2 separate regions of the Homo sapiens genome follow, and region 1 is linked to region 2. Evidence: promoter capture Hi-C in 16 types of primary human blood cells and fetal thymus (Javierre and others, 2016). All regions are on one chromosome and are shown on one strand. The core of a region is centred on a gene start or on the middle of the fragment in contact, and the rest is flanking DNA. Distances in the headings are between cores, read along the strand shown. Region 1 overlaps PCAT19 (prostate cancer associated transcript 19). Region 2 holds the start of CEACAM7 (CEA cell adhesion molecule 7).

Evidence for each region. Contacts are between HindIII fragments. The CHiCAGO score rates a contact against its expected background, and 5 or more counts as called.
Region 1: a fragment that was not itself captured here is called in contact with the fragment with the promoter of CEACAM7 in region 2 in 2 of 17 cell types (M2 macrophages and neutrophils); the score reaches 6.5 in M2 macrophages.

What each region holds. Positions count from the first base shown.
Region 1 is chr19:41,457,386-41,462,621 of GRCh38, forward strand. All of the region lies in intron 2 of PCAT19 (prostate cancer associated transcript 19), which reads right to left. Among named protein-coding and RNA genes, the nearest start is that of ERICH4, 17 kb to the left of the region's middle. The HindIII fragment of the contact is 2,664 bases long and covers 170-2,833 here.
Region 2 is chr19:41,686,922-41,692,928 of GRCh38, forward strand. It overlaps CEACAM7 (CEA cell adhesion molecule 7), which reads right to left and starts at 1,349. Exons shown (of 5, transcript NM_001291485.2): 1 at 1,181-1,349; 2 at 1-300. The coding sequence starts at 1,244. The HindIII fragment of the contact is 5,666 bases long and covers 1-1,504 here.

The DNA.
Region 1 (5,236 bases), core at 252-2,751, 230 kb before region 2:
CACTCAGATTGTACCCTCTGGTTTCTGTACTTTGTTTTGCTCCTCCCCAACAGTTACTAGGTTCTTGGTAACCACAATTCTCAGAAGTACTTTCTATTGTCCCTACATGATTTGGTCTTTGGGAGGTGGCTCTGAGCTAGTGGCTGAGACTCACATTCACTGAAATCTAAGCTTAGTGTAGCATCAAGATTGAAGCCAGCACTCTGTTTTAATTTTACTTTAGCTATGACAGGTAACAATAACTATGGGATTGAATATTACCCTTTTTTCTTATTTTGTTTGCATTTTCTTAGGCATCCAGTAAACTGACTCCTCCAAGAGTTGGATTCATTTCTAAATTCCCCAGCAAACTTTACCTTCAGTAACTGTGGCTCTGTGCCATGGGTAACTACATGGCCACTCAGGAATCAGAGGTTCCTCATTACTCACCTTTTTATTTTTTTGCTTTCTATACATTCAATTGTATCTATATCATTGTGAAAGAAAACAGAATCTCCAGGCCCCCAACTCACTATGGCTAAGGGCAAGTGAAGTTTGGAAACGTAGTCACACAATCCTGCTTTCTTTTTTCCCCAAACACATAGCTGTAATTTCACAACCCTGCGTCATTGCCGTATCATTGGGGTAAACGAGAATATCCCAGTGACACAAGGACACATATCTTCCCAGATGGCTTTCCTCATAAGTTGCTCACGCGGAAATTCCTTGTGAGCCCCTAACTCTTTCAGGAGAAATATTGTAAACAAAAAGTAAAATTCTAATCCCCCCAACCAACCGAATAGAGCCCCTTCTTGTCCAAGGGTATCCCCTGCAAACCTGAAAAACTAATTCAGGTCACGATGAGAAGGCAGGGGGTCAGACACACCTCATTATATTTCTTCCCTTTGGAGTTCATGCAAAGTGACCAGCACTAACATTAAAACAGAGATCCTGGCTGGGCACAATAGCTCACATTTGCAGTCCCAGCACTTTGGGAGGTCGAGGTGGGCAGATGACACGAGGCCAGGAGTTCAAGACCAGCCTGGCCAACAGGGCAAAATACCATCTCTACTGAAAATACAAAAATTAGCTGGGTGTGGTGGCGCACACCTGTAATCCTAGTTACTTAAGGGGCTGAGGCACGAGAATCACCTGAACACAGGAGGCAGAGGTTTCAGTGAATGAAGATCGCACCACTGCACTCCAGACTGGGTGACAGAGTGAGACCCTGTCTCAAGAAATAAGAGGAAAAAATAGAGATCCCAACAGTGACGGAACAGACTCTTTGTTGCAATAAGATAACCGACTCCAACCTGACTCTGGTATAGCATCACATAATAGATAACATTCCCTAAAGGAAATCAAAGTATTTTATCCCCAAATGTATTTCTTTGACATATTTTGGAATGGCCCTGCAAAGCCATCTCTTATTGGAGAAATCTATAGAGCATCCTCTTCCTGGCTTGGCACGGTGGGTCACGCCTATAATCCCAGCACTTTGGGAGGCTGAGGTGGGCAGATCACAAGGTCAGGAGTTTGAGACCAGCCTGGCCAATATGGCAAAACCCCATCTCTACTAAAAATACAAGAAAAAAAAATTAGCTGGGTGTGGTGGTGTGCACCTGTAGTCCCAGCTACTCGGGAGGCTGAGGCAGAAGAATTGCTTGAACCTGGGAGGTGGAGGTTCAAGCAATTGTATATTTAGGATATTACAAGTATCCTGGATTAAGTAATATCCTGGATATTAGGAACCATATTATAAGGAGGGTGGACACCTTTTTCGATATGGGGAGTAATATTATGCTCTCCCCCCAGAATATTATGAACAATTTCACAAGGGGGGTGTACACATCCTGTGACAATGGGAGTAATATCATCCTCTTTAAAAAAATATTAGTATCGATATCATGGAGGGGTGTACACGCTCTGCAATATTGGGAGTAATATTATTCTCTTTTTCCCCGGATATTCACAAGAATGTCACAGAGGTGGTGTACAATTCCTGTGATATTGGGAGTAATATATTCTCTCCCCCTAGATATTAGAAACAATATCAAATGGTGAGTGTACACACTCTGTGAAATTGGGAGTAATGTCATCCTCTTCCCCCTGGATAGTAAAAACAATATTACTGGGGGTTGTGTAGACTTTCTGCGATATTGGGAGTAATATCATCCTATCCCGCCCTGGATATTAGGATCAATATTACAGAGGGTGTACACCCTCTGCGATATAGGGAGTAATATCATCCTTTCCCCCCGAATATTAAAATCAATATCACAGAGGAGTATACACCTCCTGTGATATTGGGAATAATATCATCCTCTCCCTTCCCTGTACGTTAGAAACAATATCACAAGGGGTGTGAACACCTCCTGTGATATTGGGAGTAACATCACCCTATTATCTTTGGATATTAGGAGCAATATCACCTTGGGGGTGGGCACCTTCTGTGATATTGGTAGTAATATTATTCTCTCCCTCCCTGGATATTAGGACCAATATCACAGAAGGGGTTTACACCTTTTCTGATATTGGGAGCAATATTATCCTCTTCTCTTCTGGATATTAAAAACAATATCAAAAGGTCGGTGTACAGCCCCTGTGATATTGGGAGTAATATCATCCTTTTTCCCCATAAATATTAAAATTAATATAATTTTCTTCCCCCTGGCTATTAGGCACAATATCACAAGGGTGTGTACACCCCCTTCGGTATTAAGCGTAATATCATCCTCTCACCCCCTGGTTATTAGAAACAATGTCACGGGGGAGTGTACATCCCCTGCGATATTGGGAGTAATATCATCCCTACCTCCCTGGATATTAGAAACAATATCACAGGGGAGTTGTAAGCTTCCTGCGATATTGGGAGTAATATTATCCTCTCCCCTTCTGGATATTAGGAACAATATCACAGGGAAAGTGTACACCTTCTGTGATATAGGGAGTAATATCATTTTCTCCCCCACTGGATGTTAGAAACAATATCACAGGGAAGGTGTACAGCCCCTGCCATATTAGGAATAATATCATCCTCTCCCCTCATGGATATTAGGAGCAATATCACAGGGGAATGTACACCCCTTGCGATATTGAAAGTAATGTCATCCTCCCCTACTCTGGATATTAGGAACAATATCACAGGGGTTGTGTACACGCCCTGCAATATTGGGAGTAATATTCTCTCCCCCACTGGATATTAAAAACAATATCACAGGGGGTTGTACACCCCCTGCAATTTTGGAAGAAATATTATCTTTTCTCCCCGTGTATATCAGAAACAATATCACAAGGGGGTGTACACACTCTGCGATATCGGGAGTTACACTGTCCTCTTTCCCCATACATATTAGGGACAATATCAATACGTGGGTGTACATCCCCTGTGGTATTGTTCTTAATATCATCCTCTGCCCCCCTATATAATAAAAACAATATCACAGGAAAGGTGTACATTTCCTTTGATATTGAGAGTGATATCATCCTCTTTCCCCTTAGATATTATAAACAATATCACAGGAGGGGTGAACACCCCCTGTGATATAGGGAGTAATATCATCCTCTACCGCCCTGAATATAAAGAGTAATATAACAGAGGGGGTGTACACACTCTGTGATATTGACAGTAATATAATTCTCTGCCCCCCAGATATTAGGAACAATATCAAAAAAGGGGTGTACAACCCCTGTGATATTGGGAGTAACATCCTCTCCTTCCCTGGATATTACAAACAATATCACAGGGGAATGTACACCCTCCCCTGTGTATGGGGTAGTAATATAATTATCTCCCCCACTAGATATTAGAAACAATATCACAGGGAAACAATATCACTGCGATATTGGGAGTAATACTATTTCTCCCAGCCCGAGTATTAGAAACAGTATCACAGGGGGAGTGTACACTCCCTGCAATATTGAGAGTAAAACCATCCTCTCCCCACTTGGATATTAGAAACAATATCACAGGGAAGGTATACGTCCCCTTAGATATTGGGGGTAATAGCATTCTCTTTTTTCCTGGGTATTAGGAGCAATATCACAGGGGTGGTGTACACCCTGCAATACTGGGGGTAATATCATTCTCTTCCCTTTTGGATATTAGGAACAATATCACAGGGAAAGTGTGCACCTTCGGCGACATTAGGAGTAATATCATACTCTTCCCTCCTTGATATTAGCAACAACGCCACAGGTTTACATCCCCTGTGATATTGGGAGTCATATCATCCTCTTTTCCCCTTGATATTAGAAGCAATATCACAAAGGGTGTATTCATTCCCTGCTATACTGGGAAGAATATCAACCTCTTTTTTTCCCCTGGATATTAGGAATAATATCCCAGGGGGAGTGTACCCATTCTGCTATATTGAGAGAAATATCACCCTCATTTCCCCTGGATATTAGAAACAATATAAAAGGGGGGGGTGTACACTTCCTGTGATATTGGGATTGATATCATCCTCTTCCTTTTTGGATATTAGGAACAATATCACAGGGGGGTGAACACTCTTTGTGATATGGAAAGTAATATTATCCTCTCCCCCCCTGGATATTAGGAACAATATCAAAGAGGGCATATACATCCCCTGCGATATTGGGAGTAATATTATCCTCTCCCCCCCTAAATCCTAAATATTAGGAGCAATATTACAGGGTGGAGTTTACAACCCTTGCAATATTGGGAGTAATATCACCCTCTCCTCCCCTGGATATTAGGAACAATATCACAGGGATGTGCACACCCCCTGCAATATGGAGAGTAATATCATTCTCTCCCTTCCTGGATATTAGGAACCATATCACAGGTGGGGTTCACAACCCCTGTGATATTGGGAGTAATATCATCTTCTTTTTTTCTGGATATTAGGAACAATGTCTATTGGGGGAACTAGCCCCCAATATTTCAAAGTAGGTTCTTTTCTATTTTCCTTAAGTGTCACCTGGTCTGAGAAATAAAGTGAAAGAGTACGAAAGAGAAATTTTACAGCTGAGCCTCCGGGGTGACATCACATATCGGCAGGTTCTGTGATGACCACCTGATCTGCAAAACCAGCAAGTTTTTATTAGGGACTTCAAAAGGGGAGGGGGATACGAATAGGGAGTGGGTCACAGAGATCACATGCTTCAAATGGCAATAAAAGATCACAAGGGCAGAAGGGCCTAGCAAGGTCACAAGGCCAGGGAGAAAATGGAATTACTATTGAGGTTCCATGTCCTGCTGTGCACGCATTGTCATTGATAAACATCTTAA
Region 2 (6,007 bases), core at 99-2,598:
TATAGATTCCTGCGTCATTGTGGGTGACGTTCTGGATCAGCAGGGTTCCATTGGGGTATATTGTCTCTCGACCGTTGTGTGCGGGCCCTGGGGCATTTTCTTGACTTATATTTTTTACATATCCTATAATTCGATAGTTGGCATGCACCCTTTCCCCTTTGTACCAGTTGTAGCCATAAAGATTCTGGGACTCATTATGGACTACTAGAAGGACCTCCTTCCCTTCTGCGACATTGAACGGCACGACATCAATATTGGTCTGGGCACTGTTTGGCAGGTTCCAGAAGGTTAAAAGCGAGGCTAGGAGGGGGAGAGAACATCAGTCAATATTGGGACCTATGTATTGGGGTGGAAAGATGGGGCCCTGGATCCTGAGCAGGTCTCTTCACCCACCCCCATCTTGAAGTAAGTGTGTGTGTGTGTGTGTGTGTCCTACTGGATCAATGTCAGCAGCATGTCCCCTATCAGCACCTCTGACCTTACATTTCCCTGTTCGGAATCCTCTTCCCCAGGGATCTGCAGGGCTCCCTCCATACTGCTGGACCTGCTTACATCAGGGCATCCTTGGGAGACCCCTTCCCTGACACCTTCTCTAGAAGCCCTGGGTGTTCCGTTTCTGACATTTCCCTGCTCTGTTCCCTTTAGAGCTCTTGTCAACACCTGGCTTCACATTCTAGATCTCTTTGCCTGTCTGTCTTCTGCCGCATGAGAGCGTGAGCTCTGTGAGGGCAGGGACTTGTGTGAACTGGATTGCACCCCAGTGCCTGGAACAGGCTGCAGGCTCCAGTAGATGAGTTCATGAGAGTTCCCAGGGCCCTCCCTCCACATCCTGGGGTTTATTTTCCAATGCCTGAGGTTGGTGGCTAGGGACAATGTTTTATGCCCTGGTTATGTTTTTATTTGAAGCGTCACATGATATAGTTATTATTATCATATTTCAAAATGTAGCAGCTAGTGATGATTAACCAGGAAAAGAGAACATGTGAGATTTTCTTGACCCTTTCCAATTCCAGTCCAATGTGATTTTCCTGTTCTGGTTTCCTGTCCCTGTCTGGTGTCCTCTCCCAAAGGACTTCAACAGAAGCCCTTTGTCCCCTCTCAGAGCCCCGTCCTCCCAAGGAGACCCCAGCCAGTCTCTCTGGCCCTCCTCCCACCCACTCCCAGGAAGTCCTCCCCTCACCTGTGAGCAGGAGCCCCTGCCAGGGAATGCACACTCTGTATGGACAGGCTGAAGGGGACCCCATGGTCTCTGCTGCCTGCTTGTCCTCTGTGGAGAAGAGCTTGGGCTCCAGGAACTCTCTTGTCAGGGCTGCTGTGACTGTCAGCTCTGCTGTCCTTCCTACCTCTGTGCTGAGCCTCCTCCCAGGGCAGGAGCACTTTCCAAGATCACATGGTCCAGGGGTGGGGTCTCTGCTCAGGAGTCCTCTGTCCCCTCCCCTCTCATTCCTGCCTCTTTTGTCCCTCTTCCTCTTTCCCTTTTGTCTATATTCAGTTCCCGATACAAAGCTTTGAGTAGCAAGGCTGATGGACCCCTGTCCCCTGGGAGGACAACCAACCTTTCCCAGTGCTGACCTATGCTGTGTTCTGGCCTTGGGTCTGTCACACCAGGGGGATTATTTCCCTTGTGACAGAGAAACCCAGCTGGGCCTTGGGTTTCTGCTGGGATGATGCCCAGCAGGAAGGTGACAGAGGTGGCTCTGGGGGATAGAAAGGGGCTCACTGGGGGATGACTGGGGAGGGACCAGCCCTCTGTCTCCAGTGACCCAGGCACAGAAACCAAGGCCCAGGGGTCTCAGGAGGAGCTACAGCTCCTGGGTGTGGAGGGAGGTGTCTGGTGTGTCCTGGGAAGAGAGCTGTGGTGGAGGGAGGTGTGTGGCTCTGAGCTCTGCTGTCCTTGGGGAAGGCTTCAAGGAAACCCTCCCTCTCCCTGTCTTTTGGATGTGCTGTGGCTCAGGTCCTTTCCATGTTCTACCTGACCTGGAAGCCTCTGTCTGGCTGACAGTCCTGTGGTCACCCCGCCTTCCCCATGGGTGGTGCCAGGAGGGAATGGGGAGCTGCACAGAAACCCCTGGCAGAGCGGGGTCTTCAAAGGCCCCAGGAAGGAAGAGGTGGGACACAGCAGGAACGCGTGAAAGACAAGAAGGGTCTGTTGGAGCAAGGAATGGAAACCAGGCTCCACCTTCACCACCTTAGCAAGGCCAAGTTCATGTCCAGGGGAATTACAGCTGACCTTCGAACACACAGATTTGAACACACAGGTCCACTTACATGTCGATGTTTTTTTGTTTGTTTGTTTGTTTGTTTGATTTTTGTTTTTTGTTTTTTGTTTGTTTGTTTTTTGCTTTTTTTTTTTTCCTGAGACAGAGTCTCACTCTGTTGCCCATGCTAGAGTGCAGTGGCACGATCTCAGCTCACTACAACCTCCACCTCCCGGGTTCAAGTGATTCTCCTGCCTCAGCCTCCCAAGTAGCTGGGACTATAGGCACCCGCCACCACGCCTGGTTAATTTTTGTATTTTTAGTAGAGGCGGGGTTTCACCATGTTGGCCAGGCTGGTCTCAGACTCCTGACTTCAAATGATCCACCCACCTCAGCCTCCCAAAGTGCTGAGATTACAAGCATGAGCTGCCATGCCCAGCCACATGCAGATGTTTTAAATTAAAAGTTGCACTGAGTGTGTCCCCTCCTCTTGCCTCCCCTCCACCTCTTCTACCTCTGCCATCTCTGAGACAGCAAGACCACCCTCTCCTTTCCTCCTCCTCAGCCTACTTAACCTGGAGACAAAAAAAGGATAAAAGCCTTTATGATGATCCACTGTCACTTAATGAATAGTAAATATGTTTTATCTTCCTTATGATTTTCATAGTAACATTTTATTTTCCCCAGCTTATGTTATTGTAAGAGTACAGTATATAATATAAATAAACATGCAAAATACATTGATTTACCGTTTATGTTAACAATAAGGCTTCTGGTCAAGAGTAGGGTTTTAGTGGTTCAATTGTTGGGAAGCCAAAAGTTATACAAAGATTTTCTACGGGGTCCTCAGCACCCTTAACCCCTGCCTTATTCGAGAATCAACTGCAATTTCCTGAGTGTTCTCTGTGTGCGATGTGCACCCCTGGAAGGCAAGAGATCTGTGGTCAAAGTCAGGGGCTGTTCCAGGGATGTTGACGAGGGTCCACATGGTGTGACCTCCAAGCTACAGGATCAGGTCACCCCAGGTCCTGCTCATGGAGAGTCCCAGGCTGCCCAACTCCATGCAGTGCAGGATGAGCTCAAGGAGAGGACAGGAGTTGTCCAGAGAACAGCAAATCAAGATTTGGAGAACTGTCCACCAGGGGGATAGGCTGCCTCAGAAGGAGCCACCTGTCCCCAAGGTTTCAAAGGTAGGACCCAGAGAGGTGTCTCTGGGGGCTTCAGAGAGAGGACACCAGCCTAGGAGGTGGTCCCCAGAGAGCCCTGTGTTCCTCCATCACAGCACTGGGGGTGCTGCCTCCAGGTCATCTGTGTCCCTGTCTGTCGTCTGCTCCAGGCCTCCTGGCAGGACCCAGGAGCTGGGGCATTTCCCACCTGGATACTCAGGCAGGGGTTTCCTGGTTCCTCTGTTATGGGAGGGGGAGGCCCTATGACCCTTAGCCTCTCTGAGATGGAAACAAAGGCAGATCCTGGGTTATCCTGTCCTCCTGCAGGGGAAGTTCCCCTGGGTCCCCAGGTCTCCTTGGGCTGGTTAGAGGTCTCCAGAGACCACAGCCAGGAGCCCCCATCTCCAGGGACCCTCGGGGGTGGGGTGTCATCACCCAACTTCCTTGTGATCAGGTCCCCTGGTGGTCACTCCATCTGGGATGGAGGATCCAGAGTCTGCAGCAGGTCAGGTGTCTTTGTGAGAAGAGGAAGGACATAGGCTGCTGGCCCAGGCCCCCTGGGAGTCGTGACATGACTCACAAGTCAGAGACGGGGAAGGGGTGTCACTGTTCTGGGATGAGTCAGATTCTGACCCCCCTCTCTTAGAAGGCCCTGTCCTCCCTCTTGAAGCTCTGAGGGTTCAGGCCCTGTCCCTGGGGCAGCCTTGGGCACTTGTTGGCCTCCTCCCATGCTGGCACCAGTGCCTCTGTGTCCACAAAGAACAGACCCTGACTCCGGGGGTCACACAGAGGTGATGTGCTTCTGTTGTGTGACCGCCCACGCATTTAACCAGTATTTGTTGAGCATCTGTTGTATGTCAGACACTGGACTGGGCCCTGGGATTCCACAAAAAGCAGGACAGACGTGGCCCCTGTGCTCATGGAGTTTCCCTGTAACAGGGAGACAGGTGCTCAGTGAACATCATGGGACTGAAGAGCTAATGCTAATGAGAGAAGGGCTGTGAATGTGCTCTGAGGATCACAGGGAGCTGCCCTAGGAGATGCCTTTCGGCTGAGCCCCAGGGAGGAGGCGATGTGGGGGCAGGAGCTGCCCGCAGAAGTTGTGACTTGGTGGACGGCCACTGGACTGCAAGGAGGAGCTGACAGAGTGCGTCTGGGGAGCTTGGAGGGCGAGGAGGAGGTGGGTCGAGGTGATCCTGGTGAGGGTATACCCTGGGGGACTCTAGTCCAGCTGAAGGACGTCAGCGGACGCTGGGGAGGTGCCAGGCCGGGAGGGACTCTGCTGCCCTCTGGGGGACAATGAGGAAAGTGTAGACGGAAAAATCAGGATAGGTTTAACTCAACGTGATCATTAAGCATTGATCACGTTTGCTTGACGCTTTAAATTCTAGATATCTCTCACGCAAGCTCTTCTCTACTCTACCCCCAGCGAATCATCAAAATTAGATTGTGGTCTTATGTCAGGTCAAGTTCTGTGTGCACTTAGAGGGATCCCACACAGTATTCACACTTGAGGGCCGGCTGGAGCATGTGTGGGTAGAAGGGAGGATTCGTGTCCGTGTATCCTCACAAGAGCCAGGGTGTCTGGGTGGATAAGGCTCCACTTGACCCCAAAAGTCCTCAGAACAAGGGAGCAGAGCCTGATGAAATCAGAATCCAGGGGTGGGGCTGGGGCTCTGTGCCTCCTCCTCCTCCCTTCCTCTCTCTCTCTGGGGAGTTCGCCCTCCTCTCCCTCAGCAGAATTCTTGGGCCTCCTCATATGAAGAAACGTGATGGGCCCTTACAGACCCACCCAGAGATTTTTAGCAGAGACATCAGGTTTCAGTGTCAGGAGCACCAGTCACCCCTCAGGCCTCCCCAGACCCCTCCTCAGAGACAGATATAAATATATCTGTATATACCTTCAGTGTGTTAGTATCTTTATGAATAAGTAGAGTTTCTTGCAAGCAGCATATGCTTGGATCATGTTTTTTTATCTGTTTCATATTTTTAATCTGTTTCACCAATCTGTATCTTTTAAGTGGAGCATTTAATCCATTTACATTTAAGGTTCATATTGACATGTGAGGTTTTCTTCCTGTCATAATGATAATTGTCAGCTAGTTACTTTGTAGCTTGTTTCTTTTTTTAGTTTATGGACTTTTCTTTTCTGTTTGGAACTCCTTCGAGCATTTCTTAAATTCCCTCAGAATTTGCTTCTGGGAAAGACTTTATTTCTCCATTTTGAAGCTTATTCTTGCAGGATAAAAAATTCAAAGTTGATGTTTATTGTTGTTTTTTTCTTTAAGTACTTTGAAAATAGATTCTCAATCCCTTCTGGCTTGTAGGGATTCTGCAGAGAAGTCTACTGCTAGTCTGATGGGGTTTCCTTTATAGGAGATTAAACACTTTTCTCTTGCTGATTTTAGGATTTTTTCCTTCATGTTGACCTTAGACAGCCTGATAACTATAGTTGCGGTGAGGTCCTTCTTGCAATGTATCTGCCTGGTTCTATTTAAGCCTTTTCTATCTGAATGCCTAGATGTCTTGCTAGACTAGCTAAGTTTTCCTCAATAATTTCCTCAAATAGGTTGACCAAACTTTACAGTTTTTCTTCTCCCTCAGAAATACCTATAATTCCTAGGTTTGGATGTTTTACTTAGC